3 separate regions of the Homo sapiens genome follow, and regions 2 and 3 are each linked to region 1. The links are contacts of gene promoters, found by promoter capture Hi-C in blood cells and fetal thymus (Javierre and others, 2016). All regions are on one chromosome and are shown on one strand. The core of a region is centred on a gene start or on the middle of the fragment in contact, and the rest is flanking DNA. Distances in the headings are between cores, read along the strand shown. Region 1 holds the start of HSPB3 (heat shock protein family B (small) member 3). Region 2 has its middle 110 kb from the start of ESM1. Region 3 has its middle 68 kb from the start of ESM1.

What was found. Contacts are between HindIII fragments. The CHiCAGO score rates a contact against its expected background, and 5 or more counts as called.
Region 2: a contact is called between a fragment that was not itself captured here and the fragment with the promoter of HSPB3 in region 1, in 7 of 17 cell types (neutrophils, naive B cells, total B cells and 4 more). The highest score is 7.8, in neutrophils.
Region 3: a contact is called between a fragment that was not itself captured here and the fragment with the promoter of HSPB3 in region 1, in 1 of 17 cell types (neutrophils). The highest score is 5.3, in neutrophils.

The regions. Positions count from the first base shown.
Region 1 is chr5:54,453,854-54,458,022 of GRCh38, forward strand. HSPB3 (heat shock protein family B (small) member 3) reads left to right here and starts at 1,846. Exons shown (of 1, transcript NM_006308.3): 1 at 1,846-2,524. The coding sequence starts at 1,937. The coding sequence ends at 2,389. The HindIII fragment of the contact is 1,443 bases long and covers 830-2,272 here.
Region 2 is chr5:54,874,330-54,879,001 of GRCh38, forward strand. It overlaps the pseudogene LOC100130574. Among named protein-coding and RNA genes, the nearest start is that of ESM1, 110 kb to the right of the region's middle. The HindIII fragment of the contact is 372 bases long and covers 2,646-3,017 here.
Region 3 is chr5:54,915,140-54,919,457 of GRCh38, forward strand. No RefSeq gene overlaps it. Among named protein-coding and RNA genes, the nearest start is that of ESM1, 68 kb to the right of the region's middle. The HindIII fragment of the contact is 468 bases long and covers 1,523-1,990 here.

The DNA.
Region 1 (4,169 bases), core at 596-3,095:
GTGGAGGTTGCAGTGAGCCAAGATGGCACTACTGCACTCCAGCCTGGGCAACAGAGCGACACTCCATCTCAAAAAAATAAATAAATAAATAAAATAAAAAGCACACACTATCACAAAGAAGATGGTGGCAAAAATAATAATAAAAATAGTAAGTAAATAAATAGCACAGAAGTATTTACAGTAAAAAATTAGGTCTCCTTCCAGCCCCCACCTGCCAATCACTCTCAGGAGGCACCCACTGTCTTCAGCTACAAAGCTTTCAGAGAGATTTTATTAATATAAGCAAATACATACTTTTTAAAAAAGTATAAATAAGGCCTGGTGCAGTGGCTCACGTCTGTAATTCCAGCACTTTGGGAGGATGAGGTGGAAGGATCTCTTCAGGCCAGGAGTTAGAGACCAGCCTGGGCAACATAACAAGACCCCCATCTCTAAAAAAACAATCAAAAAAACTAACTGGGCATGGTGGCATGGTTCTATAGTCCCAGCTACTCAGGAAGCTGAGAGTGAGGGATTTCTTGATTCCAGGACTTCGAGGCTGTCACCCACTCCAGCTTGGGTGACAGAGCAAGACTCTGTCTCAAAAAAAAAAAAAGTATAAACACTAGCATATCATATATTGCCCTGGACTTTTCTTTTTGATTTAACATATCTTGGAGATTCTTCCATAGCTGTGGATAAGGAGTTGCCTCATTCTTTTTCAGGGTAAGTTTAGTATAAAGGGTGATATAGTGGGGAAATTATATTTAATTTATTTTTGCCAACTCAGTAGCAGAGCTGTGACAAGATTAATCCTTAGATTTTTGGAGGTTCATATCAAATCATTCAAAGCTTTGACATTTTTCTCTTCTTTGTGGCTCTATTTTCATCACTAAAATTCCCCATCCTATGCCCCTGCAGCCCCCATCTGACGTTTGTCACTTCTCTAGCTTAGTCATCTGATCTAATTTTGATGAGTCAGATGTAAATAAACCCAGATAATGTGTCTTTTAGCCCAAAAGACTAAAAGATAAAATAAAAGGAAATGCATAGGACACAGGGCAGTTTGTTGAATGGCTGAGATTTGAATATGTGTGTATTAATTCTTTCTGAATTACAGCTAGATTCTGCCCTCCCCAGCTTTGTATCTGGAGACGAGGGAAAATGTGATCCCAGTTCATATTATGAGTGAACATCTCTGACTGTTCTAAGAAGTCCTATTCCCTTAGATTACTGAAGTTCACAGGGAGAAAGCACCCACCCAGATATTTTTGGTTTTTGTTTGTTTGTTTGTTTGTTGAGATGGAGTCTCACTCTATTGCCCAGGCTAGAGTGCAACGGTATGGTCTTGGCTCGCTGAAACCTTTGCCTCCTGGTTCAAGCGATTCTCCTACCTCAACCTCCCAAGTAGCTAAGATTTCAGACATAAGCCACCATGCCCAGCTAATTTTTGTGTTTTTAGTACAGACAGGGTTTCACCACATTGTTCAGGCTGGGCTTGAACTCCTGACCTCAGGCGATCCACCCGCCTCAGCCTCCCGAAGTGCTGGGATTACAGGCATGAGCCACCGCACCTGGCCTCACCCAGATATTTTTCAAATACCATTTTCGATTCCCACTCTCTTTCTTGAAGTAAGCAAGGCAGACACATTTGCCAAGGATAACTGAGAATGTAAGGGCAATCCATGACTGGGCAGCTTGTGCAGGCTGTGTGCTAAATGCACTGGGAAACATGCCCTATAAATAGCCGTTCATTGTCAGCATGTGTGAAAAGACAAGAGAGCATTCCGTGCTATGATTCAGGCCTAATTAAGTGATTGCGTCTGGGCACGGCTATAAACCACTAGCTGCTTCAACTGGTAATCCAGTCAGTAGGCAACTGCAGGGGCTCGCCACTGACTGAAGGCAGTGGAAGGTTGGCAGAAGGAGGCTGTTCAAGGCTGTTTTTGCCTTCACTATGGCAAAAATCATTTTGAGGCACCTCATAGAGATTCCAGTGCGTTACCAGGAAGAGTTTGAAGCTCGAGGTCTAGAAGACTGCAGGCTGGATCATGCTTTATATGCACTGCCTGGGCCAACCATCGTGGACCTGAGGAAAACCAGGGCAGCGCAGTCTCCTCCAGTGGACTCAGCGGCAGAGACGCCACCCCGAGAAGGCAAATCCCACTTTCAGATCCTGCTGGACGTGGTCCAGTTCCTCCCTGAAGACATCATCATTCAGACCTTCGAAGGCTGGCTGCTGATAAAAGCACAACACGGAACCAGAATGGATGAGCACGGTTTTATCTCAAGAAGCTTCACCCGACAGTACAAACTACCAGATGGTGTGGAAATCAAAGATTTGTCTGCAGTCCTCTGTCATGATGGAATTTTGGTGGTGGAAGTAAAGGATCCAGTTGGGACTAAGTGACATCGTATCGGTTCCTGTTCAGATGACATGGGGAAGATGATGGTTCAGCCACTGGTACTACGAGAATGTTTGTATTACCCACATTTGAAATGATTTGCTATGATTTTTATGAAGATTAAAAATATATACACAGTTCCTGGTATGTTGAGGTTGTCTTTATTATTCTTACTCAGAAAGGAAAATTTGTAAATATGTTTGTGTGGCTCAAACTGATACTATTCTTACAACTGAAACATTGAAAATACAGAAGGCTGTATTTGGATATTAGAGAGGACTCCGAATTGTTTCTTATTATTCCAACAATGCCAGCTGCATTTGTAATCACTGATGGCAAAAGAGCTATACCCATTTAAGGAATTCCTATCCATTTTATGAAAATCTTTTATTTTGCCAAAAAGAGTTGTGATTCCCTTCACTCGATAAGCTTTTCTTTTTAATGTATTTTAATTAAAATGAGGTTTTATAAATATGGAGTGCAAAAATTAAAATACAGTATTTGGAAATTGGGTCTGATATCTATTTATGATTTAGTATAGTTGTTACTGCCTTAAAGGTCAATGGGAATTTTCAGATATAAATCTTATTTTTAAAAAGTTCAAATATGTACCTCATTCATCTTTTTAAAGATATACTGAATCCTATCTGAAGTGTTTTGACTTTTTAAAGATAGTATAAGTTCTATGGACACGTACAAAATGTTCATGAGATATGTATTTACATATCCTCTTGTAAATTAATATGAAGCTTAAGGACACCACTTTTAAAAGTTTGATTGCTGAATTCAGTGAGTTTTAATCTGTGCTTTTTAGATGCTCCATAAACTTAGATGGCAAAATGTAACACATCTGCTATCTCTGCATAATCCTTAGCTTTAAATAGCCTGGCAGCCAATGGAAGTTCAACACCTGAGCTTACACTGCGTGTCTGAGTTTACACAGCACATCTGATGATTGGTGCTTATTATATTCTCCCAAACTACTGCCTTGGCTCAAGGTGGAGACATTGGTAGAGGTTAAGGACTAGTGCCTTCAACAGCTGCTCTGGGACATTCCAAAGGTTTGCTATCTCATTCTGTATACATTAAGTATTTCTTCAGAGGCAGTGGCTGCCTGCCTTTTACCCCGCACTGAATGTGAGCTGACAAGCAGCCCAAGGACAGTGCTAAGAATAGACATGGAATGCAGGGTGTGGAAAACACCAGGGCAAATGCAGATTGCTGACAGTATCCCAGTACTCCCCCACGTTGTTTTACTGTAGCTCAAGTTAAAATGTAAAAGACATGAAGCAATAGAAAAACGAATCAAACAGTTCTAAAAGTTATTTTGAAAACAAATGTAATCTGAGAAGAATGTTTACTGTCTAATTAAATTGAAAAGATTTTGCAGTTATATGCATATCTGAGGTTTATGCCTATACATGGAGGTTTGTGTGTCCAACTCAGATATGAAAAATTTTGTTTGACCAAGTGAATATCACAGATCAGCTTGGCTGCATAACAAAGTTAATAGCAGTCGTTGAGATTCCAGATCTACTAATATGATCAGAACTGGGATACCATTTGTCTGGATTATCATTCTTTCCCAGTGATTGGCAGAATAGTGTGAAAAGAAACTAATGTGGTGAGAAACAAAAAAACCCTCTCTTTCGGCCTTGATCTTACTCTAGATGAGATCCTCCTCCCGGGAAAATTCAGGAGGTGAAATTCCTACCATGAGGAGCCACTGATAGAAAATATTCTCTTTAAAAATAAAATTAAAGTAAACACATGTCTAATGAGCTC
Region 2 (4,672 bases), core at 1,582-4,081, 420 kb after region 1:
TTACATACCCACTGACCAGCTGAGTTTATCCTCCAGGCCTTCCCATTACTGAATGCCCCCACCTCAATTTCTGACAGACTCAGAGGCTGTATTGTTAAGTTTTCAAAACCAGGAAATGTTTTCTAAATCATAAAAGCTACCGCTGAGAATGACTAAGTAACATTAATAAACAATATCCCTATATTTTCCCACGTTTCACCTCTCTGGCACTAAATCAATTCTAGTCCCAGCTGGTGGCCAGAAATTTCCATTGCCTCTGGGGAAAAGCAAGGAACTAGGTTAAAACCTGGTTTGACAGCCTAAAGCCAGTTCATGTCCTCACATACCCCTAAGTAGATCCTATCTTTTGCAGCCCCTAGTAAGTGTCTCAAAATAATAATAAAGAGCAAATAGAAACACGAGTGAAATTGGCTCCTGGAAAAAGAAACGTGATCCCTACATTCAGCGAAGAAAAAGTGTGATTTCAGTATTAGTGAAACAAAGTTGAGCAATAATCAGATAACCTCCTGGTTTTGCATGCTTACAGAAATGAGGAAATGGTTGAGTGGCAGCCAGAGTCTTCCGTTGGTAAAATATATAAAACATTTAGACTGCTCTGCAATTTCTCCCAGGAAGGTGATTATTTTATTCATTATATCCTCCTTAGAATTGGTTCCCATTCCTTCTTCCAAATTACATCTCTCCGGTTTTTTGTTTTATTTTGGTTCTATGCTTTTGTTGTTTGGCTTACTATTTATAGAGTGCCTACTATGTGCCAGGTATTGTCAGGAGTTGAAGATGCAGAATCAATGAAACAAAGAGGCCTGCAGCCTACCAAAGAAGAAAGCCACTTGGAAAGAAGAGTGTGCACCCAAGTGATATTAGAAAGTTGGTCCATCAGAAGCACCTCCAGGGCCACCTGAGGTATAAGGGAAGGAGCAATCCAACTATAAAGTGTCTCTCCCTATCCCTAATCTCTAAAGTGAGATTAATGACTTCACTTGGAAAGGGGCAGATTTAAGTGGCCGTCCTATGCATGGGTTATTCTGTCCACAAGTGATACCAAGCATCTTATTTAGTACTGAGGATTCAATGGTGAACATGAGAGACTGCTAATCAAGTTATTACAGTTGCTTGATTATTAATTGAAAAACACACAACAGAAGCACGGGGCCTAATCAAGGGAGGCGGAGTCAGAGGGTTTCAGGCAATGGCTTCTGGAAAGACCTGAGCAATGGAGCAGACAGGAAGACAGGAAAGAAGGGAGAGAGTGTTGCAGGAAGTCAAGGACCCCAAACGGAGGGACCGACTGAAGCCATGACAGAAGAACGTGGATTATGAAGATTTTATGGACACTTATTAGTTCCCCAAATTAATACTTTTGTAATTTCTTATGCCTGTCTTTACTGCAATCTCTAAACATAAATTGTAAAGATTTCATGGACACTTATCACTTCCCCAATCAATATCCTTGTGATTTCCTATGCCTGTCTTTGCTTTAATCTCTTAATCCTGTCAGCCGAGAAGGATGTATATCGTCTCAGGACCCTGTAATAATTGCGTTAACTACACAAATTGTACAGCATGTGTGTTTGAGCAATATGAAATGTGGGCACCTTGAAAAAAGAACAGGATAAGAGCAATTGTTCAGGGAATAAGAGAGATAACCTTAAACTCTGACCGCCAGTGAGCCGGGCGGAACAGAGCCATATTTCTCTTCTTTCAAAAGCAAATGGGAGAAATATCGATGAATTCCTTTTCTCAGCATGGAACGTCCCTGAGAAAGAGAATGCGCACCTAGGAGTAGGTCTCTGAACTGGCCCCCCCGGGGCGTACCTGTCTCTTATGGTCGAGATTGCAGAGGTGAAATAAACTCCAGTCTCCCATAGTGCTCCCAGGCTTATTAGGAAGAGGAAATTCCCACCTAATAAATTTTGGTCAGACCGGTTGATCTCAAAACCCTGTCTCCTGATAAGATGTTATCAATGACAGTGGTGCCCAAAACTTCATTAGCAATTTTAATTTCGCTTCGGTCCTGTGGTCCTGTGATCTCGCCCTGCCTCCACTTGCCTTGTGATATTCTATTACCCTGTTAAGTACTTGATGTCTGTCACCCACACCTATTCGTATACTCCCTCCCCTTTTGAAACTCCCTAATAAAAACTTGCTGGTTTTTGTGGCTTGTGGGGCATCACGGATCCTACCAATGTGTGATGTCTCCCCTGGACGCTCAGCTTTAAAATTTCTCTCTTTTGTACTCTGTCCTTTTATTTCTCAAGCCAGTCGACACTTAGGAAAATAGAAAAGAACCTACGTGATTATCGGGGCAGGTCCCCTGATAAGAGAGGTGAACACAAGCACCTGAAAGTCCAGTCTGGCTGAGGGCAGTGTTAGGAGGACAGCTAGGGTGGAGGCTGAGGGGTGTGTGAGGGGTCACGGGGCAAACGTCAGAGAACAAACCCCACCTTGTCCTTCTGAAAGGCCTTCTCTGGCCACTCTGTTTAAAGTGCCCTCACACACAGACATGCAAATGCACACAGGTCGATGGCTGGCTACTCCTTTCAAGGCCCTTATCATAATCTCTAATTACTTTCTTTATTTGCTTTCTTATTATCCAGCCCCAAGACCACACCACCCCAAATAAAATGTAAGATTCTGAGGTCAGAAGCTTTTGTTAGTCTTGATCACTGCCTAATTTTCAGTGCCTAGAACAAGTGCCTGGCAAACAGTACTCACTAAATAAATGCTGGTCTTGGAAAGCAAGTTAAAGAATTCAGACTCCATCCGCAAAGAGGGCTAGATAGGGAGCAAATAGGGACATTCATGATCAGATTGCAGTTTAGGAGATGACTGGCTGAAACGCAGACTCTCAGCAAGTAGCTGGGTCTAGGGAAAGGGAGGAGAAAGGGTGTGTTCAAGAAATATTTAGATAGGATTGTCAGGGTAGGGAGAAGGGAGAGGACAAAGGGGCAATCCAGATCAATTTCTAGGTTTCAGGCTTAGTATCTACTTACTGAGACAGGGAACCTGGGAGGAGAAGCTTTGGTTTCATTTTGTGTTGTTTTGTTGATGTATATGTGACAAGAAATTCTCACTGAACTTTTGGGGAGCAAGCAAATGACTCACCAACTGGATCCCCTTGGACAGGGAGGGCCTTATGAACTATGTTAAGGAGGTTGAACCTTATTCTGAAAACAATAGGCAAGCATCAAATGATTTTCATTTGAAGAGAGACAGATCTGTTTGGGGTTTTAGAAAGATCAATCAGTCTCATAGCTATGTGAGTTCAAAACTAGCGCAGGATGGAAACTGATTAGGAAAGTATTTCAAAAAAGATTTTAGATCACCTTTCACTGAAAATTAGAATTACCTTTTTGTATCATATTTTCGCTAATTTTATAATTGTGCCTCTTTGTGTATTGCTATTCTTCCAAATATATTCTGCAGATATCATAATTATAACTTATTTTTAAAATTTAAAAAAATAAAAACTTCTGTGATAAATTATTTGCATTACACAAAGTCCTAAGATGAGGTCTTAAGAGGAGGTCTTGCATTAATAAAGCAGCTCTTACTTCTGTTGTGTCATCTGAGATTAGTGACTTCACTTGGAAAGGAACACCACACTTTGCATTACAAATCTATCCTTAAGAATCTCAGCTGGACTAGGTGGCTCACGCCTGTAATCCCAGCACTTTGGGAGGCCGAGGCAGGCAGATCACCTGCGGTCAGGAGTTCAAGACCAGCCTGGCCAACATGGCAAAACCCCATCTCTACCAAAAATATAAAAAATTAGCAGGGCATGGTGGTGTCCTGGCTGCTGCTTGGGACCATGTGCAGGGCTGTCCTCTGGACTCTGGAAGCTGCACTCTGCAGTTTGAGGTCAATAAACGGAAACTGCCACAATTTTTATACTGCTATTTCTAAAGATGTCACTTATAAGGAACTTAAAAAACCTATTGAATTCTAAAAATATCATATTAATTGATGTTAGAAAGACACGGGAAATTCTGGAGTATGGAAAAATCCCTGGGTCTATCAATATACCATTGGATGAGGTAGGTGAAGCTCTACAGATAAACCCAAGAGACTTCAAAGAGAAATACAATGAAGTAAAGCCATCCAAATCTGGCAACTTGGTGTTTTCTTTTTCAGCTGGAGTGAGAAGCAAGAAGGCTCTGGGCACTGCAATATCGCAGGGCTTTCACAGTGCTCAACACTATGCTGGAGGATGGAAAGAGTGGGTAACCTATGAATTTTCAGAGAAGAGACAAGGAATTTGAATTTTTGGAATACAAGTTGCCTCTTTCCTTGCGTACATGCAGCCTAGGATAGTGGAATGAGCAAAATAATAAAAATCTAGTTCTGGCACCACCGATTATGGAAAGGGGATTTTTGTATAAGTCAGCTAGTTGTTGAATCATATTCTCATCTGTAAACTGAAAATGCCACTCTCCCCTGAGATGATGCATGTTACTCACCATGGAAATATAAGGGTTGGGATTTTAGGAATTAATTTTAAAGTAGCTTAGTATCATTCAATAGTATTCTGAAAGACCAGGTTACTTACATTACCTAATCATGTATGACATTGTGTTAGTATACCTTCTATTCATCAAAGAGATTATGAGCTAGACCTGCAGATTAACACGCAAATGTGACCTTAAAAAAATCAATTAATCTGGGATCCAGA
Region 3 (4,318 bases), core at 507-3,006, 460 kb after region 1:
AGTTGTCTACCTTATCCTATAATTTTCTGAAGTTTAGACTTTCCCTACCAGATGACTTATTCAATAGAAAATGGCAATTATACGCGGTTCATTTTATTAATTGTAATCAAAGTATGGGATCAAGTTTGAAATATTGGCTGTATGAATGAAACTTCAGGGTCTCTGAAAATGTGACTCACTGTAGCTGACAATTGTTTAGCCAGGGTGCAGGGTCCATAACCTTCCCTCCTTCATTCCTTTAACCTTCTGCATATAAACAGATGCCATTAGAATGTTGTGTTGGTTGATGGCATAACTACTCACCACACTGGGACACTTTTGAGAGAGAAAGAAAGCACTAAAATAATTAATAAGCATTAATTGAGCTCCAGCAGGTGTAAACTGGTACTGTCCTGGACAAATCAAGGTGTAAAGCTATTTAATTATTGCATATCCTGAAGCATTCTTGTAATGGCCGTCATCTGGCCCAGTGAGCCAAGGCTGTGTCTGACCTGCTGAACCAGGTCAAACAAACTGTAGGACTGTACAGAGTATATTTTCATTTTTATGCACAGATAAGGCTTTCCAAGCAAAGGAAACTAAAACCCGGTTTAGAGGACAAACCTTAGAAGTTAAAGGGTGTTAGATCTGAAGCCATCTGTTCCCATTAACAGGACAAATAAAATTTATATCTTCAGGAGCCAAATATTTACATTCCAGGGTAGGAACTTTCCCCTTTCTCTTCCTGTAAGAATTTATTTACATTCAAAAGACTATAAATGACTAGGGAGCACAGATTTTTCTCTTTCTCTAAGAAAGAGGGAGGGAAAAACAGCCATCATGCTCCTACAGAAACGGACAGATTCATAATTTGGGGGTTCCTCTTCTGTGGTGCAAAAAGCCTCTTTTGTACATGCATGGGGATTTTGATGGGGATTATATTGAATCTGTAAGTCAATTTGGGAAGTATTGTCATCTTAACTATATTAAGTATCGCAATCCATGAACATGAGATGTCTTTCTAATTATTTAGGTCTTTAATTTATTTCAGCAATGTTTTCTAGTTTTCAGTGTACGTAAGTCTTGCTCTTCCTTGGTTAAATTTATTTCTAAGTATTTTATTATTTTTGATATTATTGCAACTGGAGTTGTTTTCATAATTTCCTTCTTGAGTTGTACATTATTGGCTGTACAAAAATACACCCATTTTTGTACATCAATTTTAAATCCTGAAAACTTGCTGAATGAACTCAGTTATTGGCTCAGGTTTTTGGTGAATTCTTTAGAGCTTTTTTTAAATCTGTAAGACCATGTCATCTTCAAATAAAGATTGGTTTTATTTCTCTTAAATTGATTTTATTCCTTCTCTTCCAACCTGAATGCATCTTGTTTCTTTTCTTACCTAATCAGACTGGCTAGAATCTTTAGTATAATGCTGAACAGAAGTGGTGAGAGCAAATTGTGTTGGCTAGAACCTCTAGCATGATGCTAAACAGAAGTGGTAAGAGCAAACATCCTCCTCTTCTTCCTGATCATAGGGGAAAGCTTTAAGTCTTTCACTTTTAAGTGTATTAGCTGTGGGTTTTTCATAGGTGCCCTTCATCAAATTGAGCAAATTCTCTTCTTTCCCAGTTTGCTGAGTAATTTTTTTAAAATCATAAAATGGTGTTAAATTTTGTTGGAGTATTTTTTGGTATCTATTGAGATTATCATGGTTTTCTTTCAATTTTTTTCTATTAATATAGTGTATTACATTGATTGATTTTCATATGGTGAGCCAACCTTGTTTTCCTGGGATAAATTTCACTTGGTTGTGGTATATGATTCTTTTTATATATTGCTAGATTCAGCTTGCTAGTATGTTGTAGAGGATTTTTGCATCTCTATTAATTGGTAATATTGGCAGGTAGTCTCCTTTTTTGTGATGTCCTTATCTGATTTTGAAATCATGGTAATCTGACCTCATCAAATTAATTGGGAATAATTCCCTCCTCTTCCATTTTTTGGGAAAAGCTTGGGAAGGATTGGTGTTAATTCTTGTTTAAATATGTGGTGGAATTCACCAGTAAAGCCATCTGGTCCTGAACTTTAATTCGTGAGTTAAAAAAAATGAATAACACAATCTCTTTACTTGTTATAGGCCTATTTAGATTTTCTGTGTCTTCTTGAGTCAATGTTGGTAGTTTGTGTCTTTATAGGAATTTGTTCATTTTACCTAGGTTATCTAATTTGTTGGCATACACTTGTTATTAGTATTCTCTTATAATCCTTTGTATTTCAGTAATGTCCCCTAGTTTTGGTTTTTTACAGTAATAGTTTACATTATTGACTCAAGATTTTTCTTCTTTTAAATGTAGATATTTACAAGTATAAATTTCCTTCTGAGCATTATTTTTTTTGCTGATTCCATAAATTTGGGTGTTTTGTGTTTTTATTTGCATTCATCTCAAATAATTTTTGAATTGCTCTTTTGATTTCTTCTTTGACCAACTGGTAATGTAAAACTGCTCTTAATTTCCACACATGTATAAGTTTCCCAGAATATTTTATTTTATTGATTTCTAATTTCATTCTATTGTCATTGGAAAACAGACTTGGTATGATTTCAATTCTTTTTAAATTATTGAGATGATTTTATGTTGTAAAAGATGTTCTATTCTGGATAATTTTCCATGTGCACTTAAGAATAATGTGCCTTAGGTTGGACCCATCTGACAAAGGGCTAATATCCAGAATCTACAAAGAACTTAAACAAATTTATAAGAAAAATTCAAACAATCCCATCAAAAAATGGGCAAAGGATATGAACAGACACTTCTCAAAAGAAGACATTTATGCAGCCAACAGACACATCTCATCATCACTGGCCATCAGAGAAATGCAAATGAAAACCACAATGAGATACCACCTCAAACCAGTTAGAATGGCAATCATTAAAAAGTCAGGAAACAACAGGTGCTGGAGAGGATGTGGAGAAATAGGAATGCTTTTACACTGTTGGTGGGAGTGTAAACTAGTTCAACCATTGTGGAAGACAGTGTGGCGATTCCTCAAGGATCTAGAACTAGAAATACCATTTGACCCAGCCATCCCATTACTGGACATATACCCTAAGGATTATAAATCATGCTGCTATAAAGACACATGCACACGTATGTTTATTGTGGCACTATTCACAGTAGCAAAAACTTGGAACCAACCCAAATGTCCATCAGTGATAGACTGGATTAAGAAAATGTGGCACATATACACCATGGAATACTATGCAGCCATAAAAAAGGATGAGTTCATGTCCTTTAGAGGAACATGGATGAAGCTGGAACCCTTCATTCTGAGCAAACTATCACAAGGACCGAAAACCAAACACTGCATGTTCTCACTCACATTTGGGAATTGAACAATGAGAACACATGGACACAGGGTGGGGAACATCACACACCGGGGCCTGCGGGGGGGTGGGGGGAGGGGGGAGGGATAGCATTAGGAGATATACCTAATGTAAATGATGAGTTAATGGGTGCAGCACACCAATATGGCACATGTATACATATGTAACAAACCTGCATGTTGTGCACGTGTACCCTAGAACTTAAAGTAAAATAATAAATAAATAAATAAATAAATAAATAAATAGAAAGAAAGAAATCTGACAGAATCCAAAAAAAAAAAAGAATAATGTGTAGGTTGGAGGATTCAAGATGGCCAAATAGGAACAGCTCTGGTCTGCAGCTCCCAGCAAGATCGATGCAGAAGAGAGGTGATTTCTGCATTTCCAACTGAGGTACCTGGTTCATCTCACTGGGACTTGTTGGGCAGTGGGTGCAGCCCATGGAGGGTGAGCTGAAGCAGGGTGAGGCATCACCTCATCTGGGAAGCACAAGGGGTCAGGGAATTTTCTCCCCTACCCAAGGGAAGCCATGAGGTTCTGAGCCTGAGGAACTCCAGCATAGATACTGCACTTATGCCACGGTCTTCACAACCTGCAAACCAGGAGATTCCCTCCAGTGTCTACCCCACCAGGGCTCTGGGTTTCAAGCACAAAACTGGGTGGCCAATTGGGCAGGCACTGAACTAGCTGCAGGAGCTCATTTTTTTCCCCATACCCCAGTGGTGCCTGGAATGCCAGCAAGACAAAACTGTTCACTCCCCTGGACAGGGGTGCTGAAGCCAGGGAGCCAAGTGGTCTGGCTTGGCGGGTCCCACTCCCATGGAGCCCAGGAAACTAAGATCCACTGGCTTGAAATTCTCACTGCCAGCACAGCAGTGATCTGAGAGTGGAAGAAAGGATATCGGTGACTGAAGATCAAATTAATGAAATAAAGTGAGAAGACAAGATTAG